Regions from separate parts of the Homo sapiens genome. Here all the other regions are linked to region 5. The links are contacts of gene promoters, found by promoter capture Hi-C in blood cells and fetal thymus (Javierre and others, 2016). All regions are on one chromosome and are shown on one strand. The core of a region is centred on a gene start or on the middle of the fragment in contact, and the rest is flanking DNA. Distances in the headings are between cores, read along the strand shown. Region 1 overlaps MACROD2 (mono-ADP ribosylhydrolase 2). Region 2 overlaps MACROD2 (mono-ADP ribosylhydrolase 2). Region 3 overlaps MACROD2 (mono-ADP ribosylhydrolase 2). Region 4 overlaps MACROD2 (mono-ADP ribosylhydrolase 2). Region 5 holds the start of FLRT3 (fibronectin leucine rich transmembrane protein 3).

The links. The method cuts DNA at HindIII sites, captures the fragments that hold promoters and counts their contacts. A CHiCAGO score of 5 or more calls a contact.
Region 1: a fragment that was not itself captured here is called in contact with the fragment with the promoter of FLRT3 in region 5 in 2 of 17 cell types (endothelial precursors and naive B cells); the score reaches 8.9 in endothelial precursors.
Region 2: a contact is called between a fragment that was not itself captured here and the fragment with the promoter of FLRT3 in region 5, in 3 of 17 cell types (fetal thymus, total B cells and naive B cells). The highest score is 5.8, in fetal thymus.
Region 3: a fragment that was not itself captured here is called in contact with the fragment with the promoter of FLRT3 in region 5 in 1 of 17 cell types (M2 macrophages); the score reaches 5.6 in M2 macrophages.
Region 4: a fragment that was not itself captured here is called in contact with the fragment with the promoter of FLRT3 in region 5 in 1 of 17 cell types (total B cells); the score reaches 5.5 in total B cells.

The regions. Positions count from the first base shown.
Region 1 is chr20:15,929,205-15,931,904 of GRCh38, reverse strand. The region is part of intron 10 of MACROD2 (mono-ADP ribosylhydrolase 2); the gene reads right to left. All of the region lies in intron 1 of LOC613266 (a long non-coding RNA gene), which reads left to right. Among named protein-coding and RNA genes, the nearest start is that of KIF16B, 640 kb to the left of the region's middle. The HindIII fragment of the contact is 744 bases long and covers 906-1,649 here.
Region 2 is chr20:15,647,146-15,649,845 of GRCh38, reverse strand. The region is part of intron 8 of MACROD2 (mono-ADP ribosylhydrolase 2); the gene reads right to left. Among named protein-coding and RNA genes, the nearest start is that of MACROD2-AS1, 720 kb to the right of the region's middle. The HindIII fragment of the contact is 1,998 bases long and covers 277-2,274 here.
Region 3 is chr20:15,341,594-15,344,293 of GRCh38, reverse strand. All of the region lies in intron 6 of MACROD2 (mono-ADP ribosylhydrolase 2), which reads right to left. Among named protein-coding and RNA genes, the nearest start is that of MACROD2-AS1, 410 kb to the right of the region's middle. The HindIII fragment of the contact is 7,820 bases long and covers 1-2,700 here.
Region 4 is chr20:15,668,391-15,671,090 of GRCh38, reverse strand. The region is part of intron 8 of MACROD2 (mono-ADP ribosylhydrolase 2); the gene reads right to left. Among named protein-coding and RNA genes, the nearest start is that of MACROD2-AS1, 740 kb to the right of the region's middle. The HindIII fragment of the contact is 1,821 bases long and covers 481-2,301 here.
Region 5 is chr20:14,336,328-14,339,027 of GRCh38, reverse strand. FLRT3 (fibronectin leucine rich transmembrane protein 3) reads left to right here and starts at 1,416. Exons shown (of 3, transcript NM_198391.3): 1 at 1,416-1,624. All of the region lies in intron 3 of MACROD2 (mono-ADP ribosylhydrolase 2), which reads right to left. The HindIII fragment of the contact is 777 bases long and covers 1,388-2,164 here.

The sequences.
Region 1 (2,700 bases), core at 28-2,527, 1.6 Mb before region 5:
TCAGAAGCAGTGGGGAAGCATTTTACCTGCAGCTCTGGAAAACGACCTACTGAAGAAAGTTTCAGATGGGGAAACATTTAGATTTGACCTAAATGGGGAAAAAAAGTTTATAATAGAAGGACAAAAAAAGAAAAAAGAATGATACTCTGAGGTTGGCGAAGAATGCAGTTAATAAATATACGTACAGGACCCCCTGTGTTGGGTTAGCCCTGTGCCGTTTGTGACGGTGGACACAATATAACTACTTTTTTTTTTTTTAATAGACACAGAGCCTTGCTGTGTTGTCCAGCCTGGAGTGCAGTGGCATGTTCATAGCTCACTGCAGCCTTTAACTCCTGGACTCAAGCGATCCTCCCACCTCAGCCTCCTGAGTAGCAGGGTCTACAAGGCACATGCCACCAAGCCTGACTGATTTTTTATTTTTTTGGAGAGAAAGGGTCTTGCTTTGTTGCCTAGGCTGGTTTTGAACTCCTGGCCTAAAGCAATCCTCCCACCTTAGCCTCCCAAACTGCTGGGATTACAGGCATAAGACACCACACCTGGCCTGAATATAATATGAGAACCTGGGGTGGCTCTGCATGCCACTTAAATTCAGTGTTCTAAATGGCATATTTACAAGTACTACATGATTATCTGATATTTTCCCTGTTCTGGTTCTCCATGAAGGAAACAGCATTGGCCTTTGCTCTAGGGAGGAAATAGTCACTTCTGCTGTTCTTGCTGTCTTAACAAGGCCAAGTTGGTGCAGGAGCATGTGCCAAAAACTTAGCCAATATCTGTCCCTTTCCTCCCACCAAATGGACTCTGAGTCAAGCAGGAAAAATCTGCCAGCTTCTCTGTCTCCCTCAAAAGACAGACCTTTTAACACATTTCACAATAGCCATGAAGTTTGCAGGTGACAAGCTTCCTTTGAAAGTACTCTGGTTACCACATCTTCTACAGAGTAGGGGTAGGGAGATTACTTATGAAGTGAGGAAGATAAGAAGGGAAAGAAAAACAGCAGTTAAATTACAGAAAGGTGAGGAATTGGTTCTAATAGTTGTAAATGCATAAGAAGGAAATCCATGGTCAGACCCTGAAATCCAGCTTTCTAATAGTAACAACCAGTCTGGCAGTTTACCTAGTCTACTGCTTCTGGGTTTTTACCCTTAGTTCCTTGTGTGCTACCCCCCTCCCTAGAACAGACATCTGAGTGGCATGCTTTTGTTTTCTCTTTGAGTCTCAGCGGCACTGTTTTCTATTTGCAGTATTTCTGCCCTGGGGAAGCAAACTCAAGAAACACTTGGCACATTTATCACAGAGCAAATGCTTTCTAGAAGAATGCTGGATTTGCCATTCCAGTAACATGTCCTCAGATAAAACGGTCCAGGTATATTGCTTTCATCAATTTCCAAGACAGTGCATCCTCAAATCCAGCAGGGGGAACCAATGTAGAAGGCTTATTTTCCAAGCCCAGCATATGCATTCTTGGGCAATTAGATTAGTATTCATTTCATTCTTTTAGAAGGACATTTTGGCTGGCTTATAACTTTCCATCCATTTTAAATGCTGCAAATGGGTGAGTTCTTAGTGAAATAGGGGGCTTCCACTGGTAGAAAAAGCAAGGCACATTAACACAGTTACCCGTAAGTCTTTGATAAGGACAAGCTTTCTTTTTTATCAGCCTTGTCTGTCTAGCTATCGTCACAGGAAGCACATAAACAATGAAAAATTAAGTAGAGGGATGTGTAAACTTGAGGTTTCCAGAAGGGATTTTAAAAGCCTTACAATAACGGTGAAGAAATATAGGGAAGTGCGAGGCTATTTTGTTAGCTTAAATAATGCCACATAGAAGCTAAATGTTCTCAGTTAATATTCCTTTAAGATCACATATTTATTTCAGATGATAAATTTCCATAGCATTCATGTCGAGTGTGATATAACACTTTACTTTCCCATGCTGAAAAAGCACAGAAACCTGTGAGAATTCTACTGGTTGTGTCCTTCTAATTTCTCCCATATTAGTACTCTGCCTCCTACTCTTTCAACCAATATTTATCAAATGTGTACTGTTTGCAAGAACATTTCAGAAATTTTATAGAAATAAAATAAGAGGCTCCTGCTGCAACGTGACTATGATAAGAAAGCAGTCCATGTTTGACTCTACATGGGAGAGTTTTGTAAGGGCAAAATCTCAACAACATGATCACGGATTGCTATCCTGATATTTGTAGTTCCTTTTGTGAACGCTACATGGTGACAGGAAGATAAACAAGACGTAAGTCTAAATAAATCCATCGCTATACTGGGGAAACAATCTGATGTGTACTTCCTGCTGGTATACTGCTGTCTTTTCTTCTAAAGGTCTATAGATTTCTGGGCACAGACAGACTACGGACAATTCAAAACCAGTGCTTTGCAGATTAGATTATTGGTCTTAATTCTTCAGTCCCCTATAATAAGATTGTGTGTATATGTGTATATATATATATATAAAATCAGTGTCCTCCCACTGTGAGCAGAGAATATTTCCATGCCATTGATGTTGGACTTGACCATGGGACTTAATTTAGCTAATGAAATGCTAGTGGAGAGAATGTGAGCAAAGGATTTACATGCACTGCATAAAAGGATTTGTTGCTTGTGTTCCTGACATTTGCCATGACAAGAAGATGCCCCTGTAGCTCTTGGCTTAAGGAGGATGAGAGATACATGGAGCAA
Region 2 (2,700 bases), core at 26-2,525, 1.3 Mb before region 5:
TGGAAAGCATTCTTGATAAAGAAACACACAGTCTTAAATGGCTTTGCAATAATACACACCCAGATTTTTTTCCAAGCCTATAAAGGACATTGTGGCTTCCTCCCCAAAGATCCCCTCCTCAAAAAGTAGACCCTAATTTGTCTAAGCCAATCAGAGTGGTACTATCTTTCTTGACACAGAGATTGGTTAAGAAATCGCAGGCCTAAACTAATTGCCACATAGCAACCTAATGACTTCTGTGAGTCACTCAGAAGTGGCCCCAAGTAAGGCAAAGCTTAGGACTTTCAATGGGATTTTGGAAACAGATGTTTTCTCTGTGTCTGGACAGTGAGAGTTGAGGCTATGAGATTTGGAACAACTGCAGGCAAGGAATAAAATGAGTGAGCTCTGTCATAATTCACGACTCTGGAACTTGCATGGTCTTTACTGTGTTTGCTCTTGGAGCGCTCTTGAAATTTTAAACTTACCAACTGACTGCTCAGCCATACCTTTGTAAACATGTGCTATACTCTTATAATTGAATACAAGTCAGTATGTGCAACAATGTGGAAATAACAATGCTATCCGATTTAATAAAATGTTTGAACACTGAAAAAGAAGAAAGAAAGAAAGAAAGAAAGAAAGAAAGAAAGAAAGAAGGAAAGAAAGAAGAAAGGAAAAAGAAGGAGAAAGAGAAAGAGAGAAAGAAAGAAAAGAAAGAAAGAGGAAGGGAAGGGAAGGGAGGGGAGGGGAGGGAAGGGGAGGGGAGGGGAGGGAAGGGGAGGGAAGGGGAGGGGAGGAGAAAAGAAAAAAGCAAAGAAAGAAAGAAACAGATCCAGTTCCAGATACATTCTTCAGCTTCTAAAACAAGCTATTCTGAGGCTGTTCTACTTCTGGACTATCCAGTGACCTGAGTCAATAAATTTCCTCTATTACATAAGCCATTTTTATTTGGTTTCCTCTTTATAGACTAAGTAAAGAGTTTTAACAGATAGGATAAATTTAGACAAGTTTCTAATCTGTTTAGGACATCCTTTTTCTCATCTCTCAGTGGAAACATTCCATCTCTCTAATGGTCTCATTAAGGGATAAGTTTAATAAGAGTCACTCTTTCACCCATCCATCCATCCATCCATCCATCCATCCACCATCCATCCACCCATCCATCTACCTGTTCATCTATGTATCTATTTGCTCCTTTATTTAATGAGCACATTTTATGTGTCAAACACTGTCGCGTGAGAAAGAGCAATGAACACAAATGACAAAGTCCCTAATGTTACACTATTATACAACAAAGAAGTGATTTCAGAATTTCTCAGATGTGTATGCCATGGAGCTCACTAAGGTTGATAGGAAGTATTGAGGAATTGTATAACATGGTCAGGGAAGGCCACAATGATAAGAATGGACATTGCCACAGAGATGAGAAATAAATGAGGAGGCCAGCCAGGCAAAGATGAAGGAAAGCATTCCAGGAGCAGAAAAAGGAGGCCCAAGGTCCTGTGGAGTCCTGTATTGGACTTATTCAAGTGATAGCAAGAAGGCTTGTGGCTGGAGCTCATGTAGAGTGAGATGATGCTTCTTAAATATCATGGCCAATCTATCACCAGCCCTATTAAGTTAACCACCTAAAAATTATTTTAATCTATTACTTTCTCTTATTTCCACAGCCTTGGCTTCTATCTTCATCAACATTAAATTCCCTGGTGGCAGCAATCTCCTCAGTGCACTTCCCTCCCTGAGTGTTACACCTCTGCCGTCATCCATTACAGTGTTTTGAGAACAATCTATAGACACATGCATACGCCAAGAAAGCCTTCAGTTAAAATTGTCTGTTGTCCTCTGGGCACAGTGGCTCATGCCTGTAATCCCAGCACTTTGGGTTAGGAGGCCAAGGCGGGCAGATTACTTGAGGTCAGGAGTTTGAGAACAGCCTGGCCAACATGGTGAGACCCCATCTCTACTAAAAATACAAAAATTAGCCGATGCGGTGGTGCACGCCTGTAGTTCCAGCTACTTGGGAGACTGAGGCAGGAGAATCACTTGAACCTGGGAGGCTGAGGTTGCAGTGAGCCAAGATTGCACCACTGCACTCTCGCCTGGGTGACAGAGCAAGACTCCATCTCAAAAAAAAAAAAAAATCATCTATTGTCTCTCCATTACTTACGGTAGTGACCTGCAAACTTATATTCATCCAGACCCTATCAGTAAAATAATTTTAGCACATACTTTTCCCACAAGAATTATATTTCCTCTGTTATTGCATTTGTATGCTATACATATTTTAAAGCTTTACCAAAAACGGAAAGAAAAAACAGTATCAAAGAGAAATATAAAGACAAACTTTAATATTTTCTTCTTGTGTCTCAGTGGATCATTTTGTGCATCCTAATGTGGGGATTGCTGACTCCTTAGCATGGCAGATCCTTCAGCCCTTTGCTAACTCTATGACTTCCTCTCTTGTCTCATGTTTATGCCGTAATAGAACCAAGCTGTTTGTAACTCTTCATACATACCATCTTTGTTTCCTGCCCCTGTGCTTTTGCCCAGGCTGTTTCTTCCACCTGTCATTTCTTCTTCCCAGTCTATCTAGGTAATTTCTCCTTAACCTTTTGGTGTCTACTTAGCTGACAACTCTTCCATAAATAATTCTATGACATTTGTACTCCCAGGCTGGGAGAGGAGAACTCTAAGATTCCATAGCATCGCTGCTACTTC
Region 3 (2,700 bases), core at 159-2,658, 1.0 Mb before region 5:
GATTGGACAGTACCAAGGAGAAAAGAGCATGAACTAGTAAAACGATTAGAGAGAAGAGCCTCCAAAGTAGGAGGAAGAGCCTGTTCCTTGGGGAGAAAGATAAGAAATAAAAGGACTGGGAATTATATTTAGGTATTCATCACTGAGGCTGGATCTGCATCTGGAATGTAAAATAGGGAATTTTTACTATCATCTGGATAATTTAGTCTACAAGTATCTCTTTTGAACTGTGCATACCTCAACGACTGAAAATTTAGGAGTTTATTTAGATTCCTGCTCCTTTCTCACATTTTTCTATACATAGATAAATGAATAGGAGGAAAATGTAGTTAATCATGTATTCACCTCGATCTATAAAAGTCATATTTAAAGGAGATATGTAGACTGTAAGGGAAGAAGGGACTTTCCATCAAACCAAGTAGACCACAGAAATCAATCTTGGAGTGTAGTAACATGACGGATGTTACAGTTGATCTCTATCACACTCTAAATGCATGGACAGGCAGCTTTATGAATAACTGGTATTCTGGAATCTTTGAATAAAAATCTCAGGTCCTTTTAGGAAGGATGAATGTTTGATTAAAGCTGCTTGGTATCTTCTTAGAAATGATCAAAGAATACTCAGATATATAGAAGTACTGAACTGGGAGATGAAACACCCAGTTTCTAGTCTTATCTTTAACACTAACTTGATGGATTATTTACTTCCATTGGTCTCTGTTTTCTTGTATCTGATATTGTAGGCTAAAGACAGGTCAGTGTTTGGTTTCATAAAGAGAGACAGCAGAGGGAGAGAGAAGATATCACTGACTGTCAAAGTATTAGATAAATGGTGCATTCTAATGAAGCCTTCTTCTGAATCACTGCCTTACTTATATCTGGCCAAACAAGTAAGATAAACATGCCATTCCAACATTTTTATTTAGTAGATCAATTTTTTATCCTCAATCAGAGTGACACCATCTTTGAAAAATGCTTGCAGTAGGCACTTTGGTTTCCTTTGGTTAGAAAAGGGTTTAAAGTCCTCCAACAAATGAACACAAAAAATGTCAAAATAATGTTGTAACAAGAGCACGTACAAGCCAAGCAGTATCAGATGTACTTTCAGATTCATGGCCCTAATTCACCCTGATGTGAGCGGAAGGCCTGGCTGATCCGGAGCCCCAAAAGGAATTCTGACAACATGCCTTTTGCTTTGTACTGTTCATGCTGCAATTCCTAGGTGCATCTGGGCTATCACTGAAGCAATACTTTCTATTTCCAAAGCACTTTATAATCATTAATGATTTATGCCTTACAACATCCCTCCAAGGGAGGTCAGTAGCAAAACACAAGGAACACAAATGAAGAAACAACTGGAAGATATTAAGTGATACGGTGGAAATCGCACAGCAAAAAAGATAATAGTAAAGCAAAGCGCCCTCTGCTCTTCACACAGATTCAAGGTGGGTGTGTGATAGAGAATATTTCCATAATAAGGTCACATATATTCCCGTACCACCAATGAAGTTCCACCCCTCCGAAAACTCCCCTCCCCACTTTCACTCTTTTCTTGCTTTCTCCTTAATCCATTTAATGTTTTAAGTCACATTTTTACTATATTACAGTAATTTAGTCCTCTGGTATTTGCAATTCAATCGAGTATCCTTGGTCGTAATCTAACAGAAGCTAATAAAAGACCTTCCCTGACCAGAAAATAAAAGATTAGAAATATTTAAACCATATTATTGGCTTGTCCCCATCCCATACATTTTTGTCCGTGATTTTAAAGTTTTTATAGATCCACTGATATCCATTCAAGGATTCCTTCAGACTCAAATTCCTACTACAGGGATGCTGACCCTAGAGATTCCATTCCTACTGCCACCCAAATCCTCCAACTAATGAACACAAAAAATGTCAAAATACAAGCCAAGTCGTAACTCCAGGAGTTGACCGATCCTAGTCTGACATTGGCTGGGACTCTTGGAACCCATATAGCCCTAAATTAACAATGCCTGCTCTAACTTCTGGAGGCCATTTGTCAGTAGTTATACCTGTGCAACTTGCGTTGATCTGCAGAAAACATGTGTCTCAAAAGGGTGTATGTTCACCAACATTTTGTAAATTATATGACATGTTTCTATTGATTTACATTATAATGTAATAGATTTTTTACTTTTAGGTTAAAGGCATGTTAAACTATCAATCACTTTTGATGCCTTAATTGTATTTTTTTTCCTATTACTGGGTTTTTTTCAGGGGCAGGGTCTCGCTTTGTTGCCCAGGCTGAAGTACAGTGGTGTGATCAAAGCTCACTGCAGCCTCAAACTCCTAGGCTTAAATTATTCTCCTGCCTCAGCTTCCCAAATAGGTAAGATTACAAGTGCACACCACCGCACCTAGCTAATTTTTTAAAAAATTTTTGTAGAGACAGGTTGTTGCCATGTTGTCTAGGCTGGTCTTGAACTCCTGGCCTCAAGCCATTCTCTCTCCTTGGCTTCCTTAATAGCTGGGATTACAGGCATGAGCCACCATGCATAGTCTTAATGCCTTAATTTTAAATGTATCTACTTTTACTTCTTTCATTTTTTTTCTCAGTAAGAATCTACTAGTCAATACTAGGGAAAGCTGAAATATAGACTTCCAGAGGTGTATGCTTTTGCATGTTGAAGAAATATTTTTGTAAAGTGAATAAGTCTTCAATTCATCTCTAGATTT
Region 4 (2,700 bases), core at 142-2,641, 1.3 Mb before region 5:
TTGCATGATAGAGCCCAGGCAGAGATCAGCTGAGCCAGCCCATACCAGATCATGAGCTACATTAAATTGTTACTGTTTTAAGTGATTAAGTTGTTTTGTTATACAGCAAAAACTAGCTTATACATTTTTCTTTATCATAAAACACAGCTCAGATCTTCAGACCAAGATAAGAGAAGTGATAAAACTAATAGCCAAAGTGATCATGTGACTATTTCAAAGTCAAGCCTTCACAGGTCCATGGATGGCTGAAACCTTGACCTCTTCACTTCTAGTCTCTCTTTCTTTAGACTTGCAGCATACAATGATATTCGATACATATGATGTTGATATGATATATATGAATATGATATTCAATATATTGACTAAAAAGGAACAGAGGACTGAATTTGAGGTCGCTGCCCTAGGATTTCTATTTCCCAAGGCATGTTTTATGTGTCTTCATTTCCAAACTGTCATCTTTAACATTTGTCTCTGGAAGCTTACACAAGTTATAAAAAATGTCTCAGATGTATTTGGGACATTTATGAAAAATGAATTTGTGAAGATATGCCACAGCAACAGGCAATCAGGAGGTTTTTGCCTAGAAAAGTGTCCTTAACATGGGAGAAACAAGTATTTAAAAGCAAAGATGACTTTAATTCCTAAAGGCTTTGCTTTCTGGAGACCCTGAGTCTGTCTGTAGAAGTTCGTGTTGCATCAGGACGGAGACTGAAATGGGCAACTGAGCAGAAACAGGATAGGGCTCTGTTTCTGCCTCTGTTTGACAACACCATCCTAGCATTAGTCGGGGACAATGTCGTGCCAGCCAGAACCTTCTTGGCTTTATGGCTGAAAGCTCATAGGTATTCCAAAACTCTGAGAGGGAAAAGTAGCCATTTAACTCTATTTAACTGTTGCTTTCCGATTCCTTCGTTTTAACCTTTCCAATCTAGATAGTTGCTTCCCATTTTCTCTGCAAGAAAACATTTACAAGCCAGAGAAAGGTACTACATATTACCTACTGATTAAAAGTGCAGGGGTCAGGGACACCCCAACACTTATTAACAGGGTGACCATAGGTAAGTTGCCTCAGTTTTGCATCTCTAAAATGAGGGTAATAAAAGTACTGACTTCTAGGCTGTTGTGAGGATTACATTAGGTAATGCACACAAAACACACAGCACCATGCCTGTCACATAGTAGGTGCTCAATACGTGTTTATAAAGGAAAACATAAAGCTAGTTGTTGGTAGCACTCCAGTCTTCCCCCAGCCTATTCTCCCACCTGCCCTTTGTGCCCCTGGTTCTAAACTCTACCTCTTGACAATTTTCTTAGGTCTTCCTGGTTGGGGAAATTTTTATTTAGGACATTACCTCGGCTTTGGCAAATAAAATCCAATTTTCCTTCCAGTCTTGGCCTTGCTCTTGCCAGGCAAATTCCCTAATGATACCCGTTCTCTCCATTCCCTAATGACCAGCTCAAAGTGCCCTTCCAGGAAGGAGGATCATATATTAGGCTTAAACCTAATCATAGGAGGCTTTCATATTTTTACTTGGATTAATAAACTGCATCCTAATGAAAAATCAGGGAGCAGGAGTTGGGGGGAGTGATGTGGTTACTACATTTCCAGCTATGAGACACTGTGACATTACTGACAGTTTCAAGAGTAGGAAAGAACCAGGGTACATAAGTCGGCTCAGTTTAAACCCAGTGAAAATATCTTAGCATTAGAAATAAAGCCTTGGCAATCACATAATGAAGGAAAAATATAAAAACTTATACCCTGCACATTTCATGTGTGCAATAATGCTTACTGAGGCTGGAATAAGCAATCTCCTATTATCCTATAAAATTATAATGCAGCAAACAATGTTGTCAACAAATCAGTGGTAATTATATTCGTACTTTGACCTCATTGCACCCGTGTACAATGTGTTTCCTTTTATTCAAAGATCTGTTACATCAAGCTAGTTAGTTATGAGATAAAAATAAACAACATAGTTGGACTTCACTTTTTTCACTTGTTAAAAGGTTGGAGTATATATTGTTTTAGGTCCCTTCTAGCTCTAAATGCTCTAGTTTCTCTAAATTTCTTTCCTGTTCTTGGGTTTTTAACGTTTATGTGTAGCTAGATATTTGCTATTTCTAGGTCATGCTCCACTCAAATACACCTTCTTTCTGTAAGCATATTAAAAAATGAAAGTTATTTACAGGAGCCTACTAGTTAATCTATGTAGAAGGAATGATAGAATTAGAGAATCACCATTTTGCTAACCCTACTGGAGTGATTTAGAAAAGGCTCATCAATGGATAATACAAGCTTCAGGTTTGGGTAAGCAAGCTAGGCAATGACGCCAGTGTCAACTCACAGATCACTTACTAATTGAAAACGAGGGAGAAAATGTATCTTCATAATCGAGATAATTTTGCGACAAACATCAAAACCAGGTGACCAAACATGGCACCACAAATAACAATGGGAACCTCTTGATGTGAATGAAATGCGCAGCATCACCTATGATTTTTATTTTTTATTTTATTTTTCAGACAGAGTCTCACTCTGTCGCCCAGGCTGGAGTGCAGTGGCATGACCTCGGCTCACTGCAAGCTCCGCCTCCCAGGTTCAAGCCATTCTCCTGTCTCAGCCTCCCAAGTAGCTGGGATTACAGGCATGTGCCATCACGCCTGGCTAATTTTTGTATTTTTAGTAGAGATGGAGTT
Region 5 (2,700 bases), core at 167-2,666:
AATTGAGAAAGGACAAAGGAGAAGGTCATGCACCTCTAAGAATAGAGCAAATAAAGATATTAGTTTAAGACAACGGTCCTCCAGGTAAATATAAAAGCTAAGTTCTTACCACCAACATGAACAAGTGAAATACACTTATTTGATGGAAAACTTACGGGCACAAAGCAATTGTTGACCAAATAGCAGAAACCAGTCTACAAAAATCATAATTAAAAATACAAGTATAATTCTGTTAATTAGGCATAGAAATTTATAATCTCCACGTCTTACAATTGTCCAGTGTTTATTCATGTACCTAAATTAAACTAAAATAATTTCAATCCAGGCAAACCACCCTGAAAGATTTTTTTCTTAAGATGTTTATATCTAAACCCATGCTCAGATCAGCAAAAACATTTAGAAAGGAAAATATTCTATTAAATTTTTTAAAAACATTTTATTGGGGGATCGTTAAATATAAATAATCCATTTTAAATAATATAAACACGTAGCAGAAGTACATAAAACATACTTTCATTTTCTAAAACATAGAGAACAGTAACTTCTTCGCCTCCAAAAGAACAGACCATTTAATACCATTTAAAAAAATCTTTTGGCATTCCTATTGCCCTTCCCATAACTAAATGAATCAGTGACACGTGTATATATATACATATATTGGAGATGGAGTTTCGTTCTTGTTGCCCAGGCTGGAGTGCAATGGTGCAATCTTGGCTCACTGCAACCTCTGCCTCCCGGGTTCAAGTGATTCTCCTGCCTCAGCCTCCCAAACAGCTGGGATTACGGGCGCCCAGCTAATTTTTTCTACATGTTGGTCAGGCTGGTCTCGAACTCCTGACCTCAGGTGATCCTCCCACCTCGGCCTCCCAAAGTGCCGGAATTAGAGGCGTGAGCCACCACACCCAGCCCTGATGTATATATTTGAATCTGCTGTTTATTCATATGTTGAATAAACATTCACAGTTGGGATTACTGGCATACATCTTCCACAATTATAACATTATTTTAGCTAGTGAATAATAAAACTAATTTGATTTTGGTTAACTTCTTTTCAATACAGATGGTTTAAAAATAAGACAAAGCCTGTCTTTTTCTATTGTGATCTTAAAAATATCTTTCTAACATGCTTTTTAAAAAAAATACATAAGTATGCTACCACTGCCTTGTAGTAAACTTTAGAAAATGTTGAGATTCCAAAGGGCTGCCTACAAACCAAATGGCATCCTAGCTTTGGCAGGCTGATGCTTCATTTTGGCTGCTCTCGCCCCCTCTAGCGTTTGCAAAGCTCATCTGTCTGATTATCCAGTTACCTCACTGAACAAGATCTTGGCTAAGTCCTGCCCATCTATGACATCACCCCCTTCTTCAGCCACTGCGAGGTGAAGCTTTAAACTTCAGACTTGGAGGTGGGCTGTGTGCAGTAAACTGGAATGCTCTCCCTCGCTCACTCCTCAGTGTAGGAGTGATCTGAAGCAGGACAAGCTCAGCCTGCAGCTGCCGTGGGCTTTGTGTGGACTGGACGCAGAGCTTGGGAGACGGGGGAGGGCTATTACTCCAATTCACTGTCAATGGAATTACAGCTATAGCGGCAGTGTATATAGGATTGCTTTTTCTCGTCTTCCTGGTAAGTGTTTTCCATGTTTTTTCTTATGATTGTCCCAGAAAGTTTGCTTGGTTTTACTCTCTAGAAAGAAACGACTTGATACTATGAGAAATCCAAATAGGAACGTTTGCTCTGTCACCACAACAAGCAATATATGTGCGTGCAAGCCAGCAATGAAAAATTTCACTATCATGGCTGAATGTAAGAAGTTTCTTAGAACCTTCTTTCATTTATAAAAGATAGTAAGTGGCTATTTTCTGTCTTGAGTAATTGCTATGTGAAAAGAGCCTTATGGAAAACAGCAAGTTGGAAAGTTCAATGTTAAATATTAAAGAATACAAGGAGATTCTTCACAGATAGGAAAGCAACTTGGTGTGTACTGTACGTGTGGGATGATCACCAATTGCTGTTTTTACAACTGTGAAAGAAAATCAATAATCCCTCAGCCCATGAGTACGCAGTACATGAAAAGCATACATCTTGCTCACAGCTAGCCGAGCTACTCCTGGAGACTTATGTGCCTCTGTAAAGGATTAACAGCTACACCTAGATTTTAAAGCTTGCACTGCTATCGTGCCTGAGCTGCTTCAAGCATTTCAGGCTTGCAAATCTCAACTAGTAAATTGAACTCAGAGGAGGGGGAGACACTCTTCCAAACCATATTCCCTCTTCAATAGAACACCAAAATCCATTGCTTAGGCAAGTGAAGTATGTGACTAGCATAGTAAATGGCTAAGTCTACTCAGAAAAACTAACAAAGCTCACCCTGGAAGCTATGCCTGATGTATGCAGTGAGTTTGGGGTAGCAGGAAAGAAAAATAAATGAGTAGAGCCCTTATCAAGTGGGTTTTGCAGAGGATCCATTCTTTGCAACTTATAATAGGAAAATCTTATATTGGAAGAAATGCATTTATACTACAAAGCTTGAAAAAGTAGTTAAATGTATCTTCTCAAAAAATTTTGTTCACTGAATTAGGTCTGAAACAAAATGGTTGCATATAGGTAAAGAGTGCAACAGGCCCATCCATGTCTTCTCAACATCTGGGGGGTTTGTTTTTATTATTTTATTTAGAATTTAAAAGAAAAAAAATTGATTT